Regions from separate parts of the Homo sapiens genome. Here regions 1, 3 and 4 are each linked to region 2. Evidence: promoter capture Hi-C in 16 types of primary human blood cells and fetal thymus (Javierre and others, 2016). All regions are on one chromosome and are shown on one strand. The core of a region is centred on a gene start or on the middle of the fragment in contact, and the rest is flanking DNA. Distances in the headings are between cores, read along the strand shown. Region 1 holds the start of SNRPE (small nuclear ribonucleoprotein polypeptide E). Region 2 holds the start of RBBP5 (RB binding protein 5, histone lysine methyltransferase complex subunit). Region 3 holds the start of EIF2D (eukaryotic translation initiation factor 2D). Region 4 has its middle 5.2 kb from the start of ZBED6.

Region 1 (3,703 bases), core at 854-3,353, 1.3 Mb before region 2:
TCGAGCAAGCCTCCTGCTTCTGCTTCTCAAAATGCTGGGATTACAGGCATGAGCTCGCGCACCTGGCTGAAATTTTTTTTTTTTTTTCTTTGAGACAGAGTCTTGCTCTGTCACCCAGGCTGGAGTGCAGTGGCGCGATCTCGGCTCACTGCAACCTCTGCCTCCCAGATTCAAGCAATTCTCCTGCCTCAGCCTCCTGAGTAGATGGGACTACAGGCGCCTACCACTACGCCCAGCTAATTTTTGTATTTTTAATAGAGACGGGGTTTCACCATATTGGCCAGGCTGGTCTCAAACTCCTGACCTTGTGATCTGCCTGCCTCAGCCTCCCAAAGTGCTGGGATTTACAGGCATGAGCCACTGTGCCCAGCCCTGGCTGAAATTTTTTAAAGGAAATAGTTATCCCATGCATTTGCCAGCTTTGTGTAGTTTATTTATTTATTTATTCTTATTTATTTTTTTGAGACGGAGTCTCGCTCCGTCACCAAGGCTGGAGTGCAGTGGCATGATCTCGGCTCACTGCAACCTCTGCCTCCTGGGTTCAAGTGATTCTCCTGTCTCAGTCTCCCAAGTAGCTGGGATTACAGGCATGTGCTACCATGCATGGCTAATTTTTGTATTTTTAGTAGAGACAAGGTTTCACCATGTTGCCCAGGCTGGTCTCGAACTCCTGACCTCAGTTGATCCACCTGCCTCGGCCTCCCAAAATGCTGGGATTACAGGCGTGAGCCTGGCCGCTTTGTGTAGTTTAAAAATCACTTTCAACTCAACCCCTTTCTGAAGTCGTTATTACTATTATCCCCATTAAACAGAAGCCCTCAGAAAAGCTAATTTTGATTCTGCCATTTGCCCTAATCCGTGTTCCCTTAGGCAAGTCCTTTCAAAAGTCTAAACTTCAGTTTCCTCCTCTATAACATGTGTATGCCAATTAAGTGAAATCTCTGCCAGGCCACAAGCCATGACACAATGGAAAGGTAGGTGGACTTTGGGGTCAGGCACACCTACAAATTCCAGCTGCTCCACTTAGTAGCTGTGTTATCCAGGGAAGGACATGTTCTGACACTGGCTGACGCCTAACTGTGTGCACACATAGACAATTATTTCATTGAATCTTTAAGCCCCTGAGTAAAGTTAATCTTTACTATAATCTCCGTTTTGGAAACTAAGCCAAGACATGGCGAGGCTGAGTAATTTATCCTTGGTCACCAACTCTAAAAGAGCTGGATTTGCGCCCAGCATGTGGATTTCAGCGTCTTCCTGGTAAATCGCCACCCTCAGTTGCCACCTGAACAGTAACTCTCCACGAAATGGATGAGAATTGAATCCGTAACTGGAGGGAACCAGGCGTCTGGCTTTGGAATGCAGACCGCCTCTGGCCGACTGCCAGAGGTGGGAGGCCTGAAGTTTGGGCTCCTTGCCGCCCTACCCTTTCCACCACAACGCTGCTATCAAGCCTAAACTCCAGCAAAATAGGCTTTAGGAAAGGCACGAAATTAACTCATTTTACACATAGAGATACACACTGGGACGATTTTGGCTTTTCAAGCTAACTCAGAAAATGGAGATACAGGCCGGGCGCGGTGGCTTACGCCTGTAATCCCAGCACTTTGGGAGGCCGAGGCGGGCGGATCATGAGGTCAGGAGATCGAGACCATCCTGGCCAACATGGTGAAACCCCGTCTCTACTAAAAACACAAAAAATTAGTCGGACGTGGTGGCAGGCGCCTGTAGTCCCAGCTACTCGGGAGGCTGAGGCAGGAGAATCGCTTGAACCCTGGAGGCTGAGGTTGCAGTGAGCTGAAATCGCGCCACTGCACTCCAGCCTGGGCGACAGAGCGAGACTTCGCCTCAAAAAAAAAAAAAGAAAAGAAATTGGAGACAGGACGGCACTCCTCCTACCACGGCCACTATACAACCGAAGGCACCTCCTCCCGCCTCCCTCCAGGTGGCGCTGTAGGACCGGCCCACCTTCCACAGCGCAGACGCCTCAGTTTGGCCTCCCTCGGAGGCCATGCAGCGAAGAAACGTGACTTCATGGCTAGAGGGGCATTTCCCAGGAGCCGCCCATGCCGCCGCGTGACCTTCACACTTCCGCTTCCGGTTCTTTATTCCGGAAGTTGCTCTCAGAGGCAGCGTGCGGGTGTGCTCTTTGTGAAATTCCACCATGGCGTACCGTGGCCAGGGTCAGAAAGTGCAGAAGGTTATGGTGCAGCCCATCGTATCCTACGCAGGATGTCAGGACTAGGAGGTTCGGGTCAGAATACGGGGTGCGAAGGCGCAGGCTGAGGGCAGGCCTGGGATAGTGGAGTACGGATCCACATCCCATGAGCCCCCGGGGCTACCAAGACTGGAAGAAAGCGCGGGTAGTTGAACCGTGATGGTGGGGAGGTGGTCTTGGGGGGACCCCTGCCGTGGGGAATGCAGGAATGGACGCGGCAAAAGGAGGGAAGAGAACTTCAGGTGCGGAGTGAAAACGGGAGTTAACGGTTTTGGGAAACTCCAGGGGGATGAAAGTGGAATGGATGTTCTTTAGTCTTTAGAAGACCCGTAACGAATGCCCAGCTGGGCACTTGTTGTTTGCGTAAGCACCAGACCTCGCGTTTAGTAAACAAAGGTGAGACGGGAATAGCGTCGTCCGGTTGTTTCAGGAAGCAGAGTCTATGCTGCTTTTGTATTTTTTCCTTAGCCACTGTGGTGCAGAACCTCATCTTCAGATACTTACAAAATGTACGTAAGTTGCTTGTTTCGTAACTACTTTTTAAATAAGAGGTGAACTGATTTAGTTTTTTGTGTTAACCTGAGCGATCGCTGTGTTCTAGAATTTAAAAATAGATGTAACTGGAGATTGGAGGGTAATTGAGGGGAAGGAGTACTTAGAAAGCACTAATGTGATGAAGTGGTGTGTATCCATGCCACTTCCCAACATGCAAAGAATTGTATCCATTACTTTGCAAGATCAAAAATACTTTTTAATTCCAAAAAGTATTATTAGCAGACTTGACCATGGTATTTGGGCATCAGTAGTTTTGTTAGTAGTGATTATGGCTAGAACATTGGAACCTCTCCCCTTTAGGATGAAACATTGGAAGAAAAACCCAGCCAACTTAAACCATGTCAAGAGGTGGTGTGTTTAATACCTGTGGGAAAACTTAAAGACGAAAAAAGGAAGAGAGAAGGGGTAGCTTCAGAGGAGTTTAGTGGCAGCTGCTTTCCTTTGAGGGAAATTTTAGCAACTTAAATTTTATAGTGTGATAACACAACTGAAAAACATTAATTTCAGGTGATAATAATTCTTAACCACCTGAATTGAGGGCTCCTGTCCTAGTTGTTAGGTGTGTGACATGAGAAGGCTTTGTTTTGGAACTGGATTTTGCTGCAGGAGATAAGCCCTTGGTCATTAGAAATTACTGCTTTGTGCTATGCTGTCAAAAACTTTCACTCTTAATAGATTGAGACCAGAAGCAGTAAGAAATATTGAGTCCCAAAATCACAGGAAAATTATTAGCTTATACAGTTCCAATATAGAACTTATTAAATGAAAATTCTTTTTGAGGTTATTATTATTGGTGAATAATTCTTAGATATGGGCTAATTAGTTAAAACTTTTGACTTACATTCATTACAATTTTTTTAGGAGCCATATTTCTCTTGTCGTTTGACCAAAATGGTTAGGTTTTGTATACTTCAATTTTTTGGGGGGCGG
Region 2 (3,227 bases), core at 537-3,036:
CCCCTCCAAACTGGTTTTACACTCCTCCAAAACTCAACTCCACATTGCTGTCAGACAAACCTTACAAACTCATAGCTCTGATTGAGTTACTAAGTCAAAATCCTTCAATGGATCTACCCTACCTTCCCTAAAAAGCCCAAACTTTTGAGCTAGGCATTCGAGAACCAACACAAAATAGATGGCACCGATCCCATCCCCTGGCATTCTCTTTATCCACAACCTGGCCAAGCAGGAAAATTCTTTAGGTCTTCTCTCACTGATGCCTACTGAACATCCCTCCCATATTTTCATACTTCAGCCTGTTGATATTTTACCAACCTTAAAAATCCACTTAAGGCCGGACACTTTGGGAGGCTGAGGTGAGTGGATTGCTTGGGGCCAGGAGTTTGAGACCAGCCTGGCCAACACAGTGAAACCCCATCTCTGCTAAACATACAAAAATTAGCCAGGCATGGCAGTGCGCACCTGTAGTACCAGCTACTCAGGAGGCTGAGGCACGAGAATCACTCGAACCCAGGAGACAGAGGTTGCAGTGAGCCAAGACTGTGCCACTGCACTCCAGCCTAGGCGACGGCGCGAGGCTGTCTTAAAAAAAAAAAAAAAAGTCCACTTAAAACTCCAACTCCTCCACAGGTTTGGGGGGTTTGTTTTTCCTGGTTGACTTCTTCCTTTACCCCAAAGACATTCACTCTCTGTTCCAAACATTCTTAGCAACTGGTAATGACTCTTTCAGGCCTGCCTACATTCTGCAATATCCTACAGCTATTTTACATAATCACCTTAAACTCCCTGCTTAATGAAAAGCTCTTTAAGGGCAAAGACCATTTTTTATGTATCTTTGTAGCCCTTTTGACAATTAACATATCTTCTGACTTTTTTAAAAGAGAAACCTAACCATTAGGAACAGCAAGTAGTGCAGAAGTCCTTGAAAACCTCAGCTACCCCTAGAATACCATGCTAAATGTCACCTAATGGAAGTCCAGGAGAAAGGACCTACAGTTTTTAAATAATCTGGATAGGAGGTAAGGAGGCAATGACTCAAAGTGAGGGCGACAAAAGACAACTCCCTCCGTATTTCACACCTCAGTGTTTTACACACCGTCCCTAGCAAAGGACCTTAAACAGAAAGTTAGGATAATTGGATTCCAGTGCCAACTATGCCATTTACTTGCTTAGTGCCTAGCCATTACCCTCTGAGCCTTTATTCATCTGTTCAATGAGAAGCTTCTACCAGAAGATCTCCAAGTCCCCTCCTTAGACTTCTCTTTTCTACAAAAAGATTAACCTGTTCAGGCACCCAATTCCCTGACAAGTCTTCAAAGCTTCATCCCAAGCCTCACTTCTTCAAATTCCATCTCCAACAACTCTGGTCCTGGCTGCTCTGGGTACTTCAACACCTGCGATCCTCATAATCAAAGCTAAGTCACAAACTGTCTGTCCCCATCGCTCCATAATTGATATGAAAGTGGCCTCGGGAGGGGCAATGCAACCTACTCGGGCAGAAGGTGGGCTTCCTCCTCCCGCTGCTGCTCCACATCAGGTGTGCCCAGTGATCCATAGCCGAACAGTGTCCCTAAGATTGCAGCCTGACTCCCCTCCCGCCTGGGTTCCCTCCTTTCCAGTACCCAACGCTTCTCTAAAACGCAGCCACAGCCCTTCTCACCCAGCAACTCGAGGTTCATCCCTGCGGACTGTGGCCGCCCGGTCTCAGCTCCGGCAACAACACCTTCTCCCCGGCCGGCTTCAGCAACTTGCGTCTAAGTGGTGGACGCCGCGAAGAGACTGGCGCAAGCTCCGAAGACTTTCGGCCTTAGAAGGCCCCGCGGCTTCCGCTTTCTTCCCCCGCCTTCCTTGTTCGTTTCAGGTGGGCTGCCCAAATATATGCCTGACCAAAATCAAGCATACACTCTCTCGGAAACAATTAATTATGATCTTTGCTGAGGTACAACAATGTTATCGTCACTAGGGACTTTAAATAGCGCGACAATTTAAGATTATTTGCTCCGGGAACATGTAGGTGAGGTAGAAATTCCAGGCATACAGTTAACCTACTAGTTCTTGCCCTGTTGTGTGTTCAGCGGCGTTGTCCGGGCGGGCTACCTCAGACTCCGCAGGAAAGGTTCCGGACAAGTCCTGCTAATGCAAGAAACCAGGGAAGGTCGTCCCCTAGTGCTCGGGTGTGTAGCGCCGCTGACCTCACCAAGGCGCGTACTTACCCTGTATGTAGGTGGCGTTGCAGGGTGTTTCGGTCTCGTGAAAATTATTTCTCATTTGTAAAGATATGCTATTGATCCTACAGAAAGGTACGACAACATATGTTAGGCCTGTCTGTGTTAAGATAATAAAAACCTTATTATCTAAGGTTTTACCCTTTACCAAACAGTGTTGACAGGGACGCTGTGAAAAAGACTGTGAAAAAGAATTGGAATGAGGGGTGGACTGAGTTTCCCGGAGCTCAGTCATACAGAACTCCAATGAAATACCCAAAGCAATTAGAGAAGTCCAGTTACTGGTATCTAGCGAAAGAGCAAATTTTATATGAACAAATTCCTACTATAAATGCTGTGGCTCATCAGAAAAAGGAAACAACGTCAAAGGCTCGCTGCAGAAAATAGTACTCGGGCTAGGTCTCCGACAATGGAAAAATACACATACACAAGTTTATTAATCGCAGTATTGTCTGCAATTGCAAACTTTTGGAAACAATAATGAAACTTTTGAACTAGGGAGCCCAGCATTTTCATGTTGCCCAGGGCCCTGCAAATTATGTAGCTAGTCCAGTCTGCCTCTACTTGACAAATTTGCAGAAAAAGCAGCCTCATTCACACAGTGCACCCTGTCCCTGGGCCCCAGTTGATTGCTCTTTCAGTAAGCCCCTGACCTAAGCTCAACCCAATTAAATTCCTTTCCCAAGAATTTGGAATGGGAATTAAGTGGCCCCCACAGTCTGACACATCGATTGAAGAGAGTAAATGTGAATTAAGGAGCTATTTAAAGCGCCTAATAATAGATGGACACCATGGTAGTTGGCTGCAGGTTGCAGAATGAAGCAGAAGTCCAGAAACTAGTCAAAGATAATACTTGGTGTATCCAATTAGTTCCCAAGAACATATTACATTAATGTCTTCTATTTCCATTATCCTTGGACCTTTATAAAGTATGTCTTTTGCAGCCGGGTGCGGTGGCTCACGCCTGTAATCCCAGCACTTTGGGAGGCCGAGGCGGGC
Region 3 (3,480 bases), core at 517-3,016, 1.5 Mb after region 2:
TAGTTCCTGCTACTCGGGAGGCTGAGGCAAGAGAATGGTGTGAACCCAGGAGGCGGAGCTTGCAGTGAGCTGAGATTGCGCCACTGCACTCCAGCCTGGGCAACAGAGCAAGACTCTGTCTCATGAAGACATGCCCTGAAATTCCATCCTTTTCAAGACCTCTGCTCTATTCCTAGTCAACCCACTGTAAACTTCTCAGCCACTGTTCCTTCATCTCAGAACTTCCCTTTGCAACCACCCTTACTTACTATGTCAGCCCTTTTTTTAATCCCTCCTATAGTGGTTTTGCATAAGAGAAAACCTTTTGCATCCTAGAATTGAAAGACCCAATTCTAGGAACACCAGGTCCATAAAGATCCTTGGGGATGGTATTGGGAGATTTCGTGCTTGCTTATTTTATGGGAGACAATGGAAGAAACAGAGAGAAGCAGATGTTAGGCAAGAACTACCTAATGGTAATGGCCATCTTCGTCCTGTTGTCATACCTGTTGGATACAGATTTTTCTCCAGTTCAAAGAGGATGGGGTTACCACCACTCACGTACACAGTCACTGCATCCCCTTTGTGAGCATACAACTTCACAATGTTGAGCTCCTCCTTTCCAGGTACTAACTCAGAGACTTGATCAGTTCCAAGGGTGGGGAAAGCAGTTGTCACATCAGCTCGAAGCTTTCTCCTGTGGAAAGCACACCAGCACTGTGAATGCTGCCTGGACAGACTTTTAATAAATATCAAGAACGAACTCAAAAGTGCTCACTATAAAATCACAAGGGCCAAAGAAAGATTGCCTGGTTTATGATGTCCTAGTCTCACACACACTCTTCTGAAACATCCTAAACTCTTTTTCATCCATTGTCATCTATTTTCACTCATTCCTGGGGTATGCCTTCCCATTTTATGGGTGGGAAAACAGGCCCAGTGAACAATCCAAGTTAGCCTGACACAGGAAACAGCCCTGCCTTCCTGACTTCATGCCTAGCCCTTGGGCCCACTCCTTTCTCATACATGCTTCGCAAATATGCCAGTTTATGATTAAATAACTATGCCATGAGACCTATAGACAACTATAAAGCACTGGTTACAAAATTCCAAACACAATCTCCATTTGTGACCCTGTCTGAACAGATACAGTTCTTCTTACCACATGTGCCTTATTCCCTCCCACCTCAGTTTCCAGCTGTCTCTCCTGCCAGAATTAATCACTAGTCATTTTTTTCTCTTATACTTTTAATTCTTGGTATCCCATCCGATCTCTCCCAAGGGGCATTAAGCTCTTTGGAGGGCAAGAATTCTGTATTCCTTCACTTCTGCATTCTCCACAACACCTTAAATAGTCTGCAGTCAGTAAACTCTGACTTAACTACGTTTTCTTTTAAACTCACTAGACTATCCAAAAGAGAGCCAGGTCCCCCTCCATCCTCACCTCAAAATGTGTCTAACCCACCCTTGCCTCCTGGGGTCCCTTCCCTGGCATACCCCTCGGCCTCCACCCGAGGATGTCGGCCAAGAATAGCGAGGGCTATGGGCCAGCGGGGCCCAAGAGGTGTCTGGTTGTTCCGTGGCAGAGCAGGCCCCTTTCCTCCCTCACCTGTCCGACCCCTTGATGGCCGTGTTGGACTTGACCCGAAAGGCCTTGGCAAACATGTCTGCTGGGGTGGCCTGGGGAAGAGAGCACAGAAGCCAGGGAATGTCAAGAAAGCGAGGGCGCAGCAGCTGCCAGGCCCTCAGCCGTGGGGGCAGCCATGCTGGGGCCCGGCCGCGAAAAGGGCCCGGCTGGAAACCAGGGCCGCGCAGCTTCGTGGCCGTTGCCGCTGGGGAGGCCGCGGCCGCCCCCAGTGGCGGTACCTGGAACTAAAGCAGGGCAGGGAGGGGCAGGGCCCAGGGAACGCCCCTCCCCCCCACCTTCCCATCCCCTCGCGGGCCTGGCTCTGCGCCTGCGCGAGCGGCTCGGGTTCCCCGTCCGTAGCGACTCGGCCACGCCAATAGCTGTTCTGTTTATTTCCTTCCACCCCATCAACCTTAGGAACTGCTTTGAGTAGAAGCTCTCTGCAAGCTCCCATTCCATTCGGTTCGGTTCAATTCCGCAAAAATAATTGAACTGATAAACAGTTCAGGCTTCGGCCGGGCGCGGTGGCCCAAGCCTGTTATCCCAGACTTTGGGAGGCCGAGGCGGGCGGACCGCTTAAGCCCAGAAGTTCGAGACCAGCCTGGGCAACATGGCGAAACCCCATCTCCATAAAAAATACAAAATAAAAAAAAAAAAAAAAAAAAAAAAAAAGAAAGAAAGAAAGAAAGAAAAAGAATTGGGAGGCCGAGGTGGGCGGATCACCTGAGGTCGGGAGTTCGAGACCAGCCTGATCAACATGGAGAAACCCTGTCTGTACTAAAAATACAAAATTAGCCGGGCATGGTGGAGCATGCCTGTAATCCCAGCTACTCGGGAGGCTGAGGCAGGAGAATTGCTTGAACCCGGGAGGCAGAGGTTGTGGTGAGCCGAGATTGCACAATTGCACTCCAGCCTGGGCAACAAGAGTGAAAGTCCGTCTCAAAAAAAAAAAAAAAAGAAAAGAAAAAAGAAAAATTCAGCCGGGTGTGGTGGCGCATGCCTGGGGAGGCTAAGGCGGTAGGATCGCTTGAGCCCAGGAGGCAGAGGTTGCCGTGAGCCGAGATTGTGCCACTGCACCCCACCTTGGACAACAGAGTAAGACTCCGTATCAAAAAAATCAAACAAACAAACAAAAAAACCTCGAGGGCTTTTTGAATATTTTTCTTTATTTTATTTTATTTTGTTTACTTGGAGACAGGGTCTCGCTGTGTCACCCAGGCTGGAGTGCAGTGGCGCAATCTCAGCTCAATGCAGCCTCCACCTCCCGGGCTCAAGCGATCCATCCGCTTCAGCCTCCCGAGTAGCTGGGACTACAGGCGGGCACCACCACACCAGGCTAATTTTTGTATTTTTTGTAGAGACAGGATCTCACCTTGTTGCCCAGGCTGGTCTCAAACTCCTGAGGTCAAGAGATCTGTCCGCCTCGGCCTCCCAAAGTGGTGGGATTACAGGACAGGTGTGAACCACCAAGTCGGGCCTAAATGTTTTTCTTAAAGGCATTCTATGATTAAGGTCTATTCATTGTACTATAAGCTAGAAGCCTCAGCTAGAATTTTCTGTAAGATTTTTCTCATCCCGGATTTTTAGTTTACTTGGGTGGTAATAACAGTAATAGAGAATTCACTGTTGTCCCAGATTTGTCCCAAAGTCACACAGGCAGGGAAGAGAAATTAGGTTTTCCTCAAAGGGACAGCTGTGTTCCCTGGAGACAAGGATTTAAACACCCGGAATCCTGGCTCTTCGTAAATTAAGTCTTGCATATTAAAATTACATTAAGCAATTTAAGTAATAAAAGTAAATTATGTTTTGCATATTAAAACTTCCAAGTGTCCATTCACCAATAAAAAATCCCAATTGATTCAGTGACGCAGTTG
Region 4 (3,687 bases), core at 1,026-3,525, 1.3 Mb before region 2:
TCACTGTGTTAGCCAGGATGGTCTGGATCTCCTGACCTTGTGATCCACCAGCCTCGGCCTCCCAAAGTGCTGGGATTACAGGCATGAGACACCGCGCCCAGCCTCACTGATTCAAATGTTAATGTCCTTTGGCAACACCTTCACAGACACACCCAGGATCAATAGTTTGTATTGTTCAATCCAATCAAGTTGACACTCAGTATTAACCATCACACCCGTCTCTACTAAAAATATAAAAATTAGCTGGGCATGGTGGCAGGCACCTGTAATCCCAGCTACTCAGGAGGCTGAGGCAGGAGAAACACTTGAACCCAGGAGGTGGAGGTTGAGTGAGCTGAGATTGTGCCACCACACTCCAGCCTGGGTAACAGAGCAAGACTCTGTCTAAAAAAAAAAAAAAAAAAAAAAAATTAGTAAGAACAAGCTAAGTATTTACCCAGTTATTCCATTTCAGGGCCTTGGTAGCTGGATCTTATCCCAGCAGCTCAGGGAGAAGAGCAGAAACCAAACCTGGACAGGCTGCTGCTATTCCATCACAGGGTACACTCACATCCAGGCTCACTAAGACTGGGATCATTTAGACATACCAGTTCACCTAATTTGCACATCTTTGGGATGTGGGAGGAAACTGGAGTACCTGGAGAAAACTCACACAGACACGAGTGAAATGTGTAAAATCCACCCAGACAGTGTACTCGGCCTGGAATTGATTTATTTTTTCCTCATCATCATTTTAATGAAATGACATTGAATGAAACAATGTTATTTGAGGACCAAGTAAAAAATCCTTATGAGGAAATAAAACAGCAAAAGGATGCATTGGAAGCATTGGAAGGGGAAGGCAGGCCTAGAAGTGTTGATTTTTGATGATACCAGTTCAGATCCCACAGTCAGAGAAAGAAGTTTAAATTGTGTCATCCGCAGTTAGTAAGTTATTTGTGACTCCTGTCTAAGGCTTCTCGGTAGAATGCTCTGTTAGTCACTATCTTCTCACACATGTCAGACAGCTGAGACCCAAAGGCAGGGATAAAAAGAGGCAAGATGAGACTGGGCGCGGTGGCTCACACCTGTAATCCCAGCACTTTGGGAGGCCAAGGTGGGCGGATCACCTGAGGTCAGGAGTTCAAGACCAGCCTGGCCAACATGGTGAAACCCCGTCTCTACTGAAAATACAAAAAAAATTAGTTGGGCATGGTGGCAGGCGCCTATAATCTCAACTACTCGGGAGGCTGAGGCAGGAGAATCGCTTGTACCTGCGAGGCAAAGTTCGCAGTGAGCTGAGAGCGCGCCATCGCACTCCAGCCTGGGCAGAAGAGTGAAACTCTGTCTCAAAAACAACAACAATAACAACAACAAAAAGGCAAGATGATGGACAGTGGTGATGAACACTGTGGGGGAAGGGACTAGCTACTCACATGGTGGTTTCTCTCCCACTCCAATCTCTCATGTCGGGTAGTACAGACACAGGGCTACCCTCAGTTTGTAAAGCCCGCAGGGTGGACTAGAGCCTCAGGGTGAAGGCTGGGTCAGCATTTGAATCCAGATTATATGAGAGTCAACACATCCTACTACCGATCTGCTATGCAAATAATGAAGCTTAACCTTCAGGTACCCTTTCTTTCACAAGCTCCCTTCAAGGCTCTGGACAGGGCCTTAGCAATGCAGTCATTCTAAAACTTGCAAAAGTAAGATTTTAATGACAATGGTTAAAAGCCCTGTTTCTTTTCACTCAGCTGTCCTTTCTAGTACCTTCCCCTTATTGGGCATTTTGGGATCTGGCTAAAAGGGGGTTGGGATGCAATTATTTTGGGTTATATTTATGTGATTTACAGTCACTTTCATGGGGCTAGAAATAGTTTTCAAGAATACCCCTGTTGCCCACTGTAGTGACTCATCTAGCATTATGACCCAATGTTGTAGGGCCAGAGGTCACATTTTGTTTTAAACCTGCCCTACAGCATCTGGCACTGGAAGAATGTAAATCATTGAGGGGTGACAAGGTTTGAAACATATGGCATCAGAGGCTAGTCTGTGGAAAATTCTTCACACGTCTAAAATTTTTTTTTTTTTTGAGATGGAGTCTCGCTCTGTCGCCCAGGCTGCAGTGCAGTGGCGCAACTTGGGCTTACCGCAACCTCTGCCTCCTGGGTTCAAGCAACCTCTGCCTCCTGGGTTCGAGTGATTCTCCTGCCTCAGCCTCCCAAGTAGCTGGGACTACAGATGCATGCCACCACACCTGGCTGATTTTTGTATTTTTAGTAGAGAGGGGGTTTCACCATGTTGGCCAGGCTGGTCTTGAACTCCTGATCTCAGGTGATCCACCTGCTTTGGCCTCCCAAAGTGCTGGGAATACAGGTGTGAGCCACTGCACCTGGCCACACATCTAAAATTTTATTTTTTTTTTATTTTTTTTTTTCAGATGGAGTCTTGCTCTGTTGCTCAGGCTGGAGTGCAGTGGCATGATCTTGGCTCACTGCAACCTCTGCCTCCCGGGTTCCAGCGATTCTCCTGCCTCAGCCTCCTAGGTAGCTGGGATTACAGGCGCATGCCACTACGCCCGGCTAATTTTTGTATTTTTAGTAGAGACGGGGTTTCACCATGTTTGGCAGGCTGGCCTTGAACTCCTGATCAGGTGATCTGCCCGCCTCGGCCTCCCAAAGTGCTGGGATTACAGGCATGAGTCGCTGTGCCTGGCCATATCTAAAATTTTAAATGGACGAGTCAGTTATCACTAACAGCTGGCATGGTAGCAAGCCTCCAAGAAAGACCCCAATGATCCCTGGCTCCTGTTACCATGCCCTTGCTTAGTCCCCTCCCACATAATGCCAGTGTTAATCTGTGTGATCAATAGAATACAGAAGAAATGGTGGTATGTAATGCCCAAGGCTAGGTCATAAAAGGCATTGCAGCTTATAGTGTCTATCTTTACTATTTCTCTCGTCATTCACTCTGGGAGAAGCTTGTTGCCTATATCCTGAGCAGCCCTACGGAGAGGCCCTCAGAGTGAGAAACTGAGGTCTCATCTCCTGTTAACAGCTATATGAGTTGACTTGGAAATGTATCTTCTAGCCCCAGTCAAGCCTTCAGATGACTGCAGTCCTGGCCAACTTGATTGCAAACTCATTAGAGACTCTGAGTCAGAACCATCCAGCCAAACTGCTTCTGAATTCCTGACCCACAGACACGTGAAATAACAAATGTTTGTTCCTTAAGCCACTACATTTTTGGGTGATTTTTTACATAGCAATAAATAATAGATTTAGTAAAAATGGTAGCTCTTGCCTGGCCAAGAGGGTATTAAATAATTCAATAAAGTCTTAGTGCTTATATATATCTAAGAAACTTGATAGAAGCTGTACCAAATTTGACAATAATCATACATATATATTTTTTTTTCTTTCTTTTTTTTTTTTTTGACTGAGTCTCACTCTGTCGCCCAGGCTGAAGTGCAGTGGTACACAATCTCAGCTCACTGTAATCTCCACCTCCCGGGTTCAAGGGATTCTGCTGCCTCAGCCTCCCAAATAGCTGGGATTACAGGTGCACGCCACAACATCCAGCTAATTTTTGTATTTTTAGTAGACATGGGGTTTTACCATGTTGCCCAGGCTGGTCTTGAATTCCTGGGCTCAAGTGATCCACTGGCCTGGGCCTCCCATAGTGCTGGGATTACTGGCATGAGGCACT

The links. Contacts are between HindIII fragments. The CHiCAGO score rates a contact against its expected background, and 5 or more counts as called.
Region 1: a contact is called between the fragment with the promoter of SNRPE here and the fragment with the promoter of RBBP5 in region 2, in 3 of 17 cell types (neutrophils, total CD8 T cells and non-activated CD4 T cells). The highest score is 8.0, in neutrophils.
Region 3: a contact is called between the fragment with the promoter of EIF2D here and the fragment with the promoter of RBBP5 in region 2, in 3 of 17 cell types (total CD8 T cells, total CD4 T cells and neutrophils). The highest score is 8.4, in total CD8 T cells.
Region 4: a contact is called between a fragment that was not itself captured here and the fragment with the promoter of RBBP5 in region 2, in 1 of 17 cell types (neutrophils). The highest score is 6.2, in neutrophils.

Annotation. Positions count from the first base shown.
Region 1 is chr1:203,859,496-203,863,198 of GRCh38, forward strand. It overlaps SNRPE (small nuclear ribonucleoprotein polypeptide E), which reads left to right and starts at 2,104. Exons shown (of 5, transcript NM_003094.4): 1 at 2,104-2,218; 2 at 2,701-2,727. The coding sequence starts at 2,165. RefSeq lists enhancers at 1,886-2,180, 1,989-2,248, 2,634-3,209. The HindIII fragment of the contact is 9,598 bases long and covers 1-3,703 here.
Region 2 is chr1:205,120,192-205,123,418 of GRCh38, forward strand. RBBP5 (RB binding protein 5, histone lysine methyltransferase complex subunit) reads right to left here and starts at 1,787. Exons shown (of 14, transcript NM_005057.4): 1 at 1,664-1,787. The coding sequence starts at 1,682. RefSeq lists enhancers at 1-405, 1,569-1,748, 1,889-2,108 and a silencer at 2,470-2,764. The HindIII fragment of the contact is 6,684 bases long and covers 1,321-3,227 here.
Region 3 is chr1:206,610,699-206,614,178 of GRCh38, forward strand. EIF2D (eukaryotic translation initiation factor 2D) reads right to left here and starts at 1,767. Exons shown (of 15, transcript NM_006893.3): 1 at 1,589-1,767; 2 at 486-676. The coding sequence starts at 1,644. RefSeq lists an enhancer at 1,460-1,529 and a silencer at 1,820-2,029. The HindIII fragment of the contact is 3,738 bases long and covers 668-3,480 here.
Region 4 is chr1:203,788,589-203,792,275 of GRCh38, forward strand. No RefSeq gene overlaps it. Among named protein-coding and RNA genes, the nearest start is that of ZBED6, 5.2 kb to the right of the region's middle. RefSeq lists an enhancer at 1,523-1,692. The HindIII fragment of the contact is 1,363 bases long and covers 1,595-2,957 here.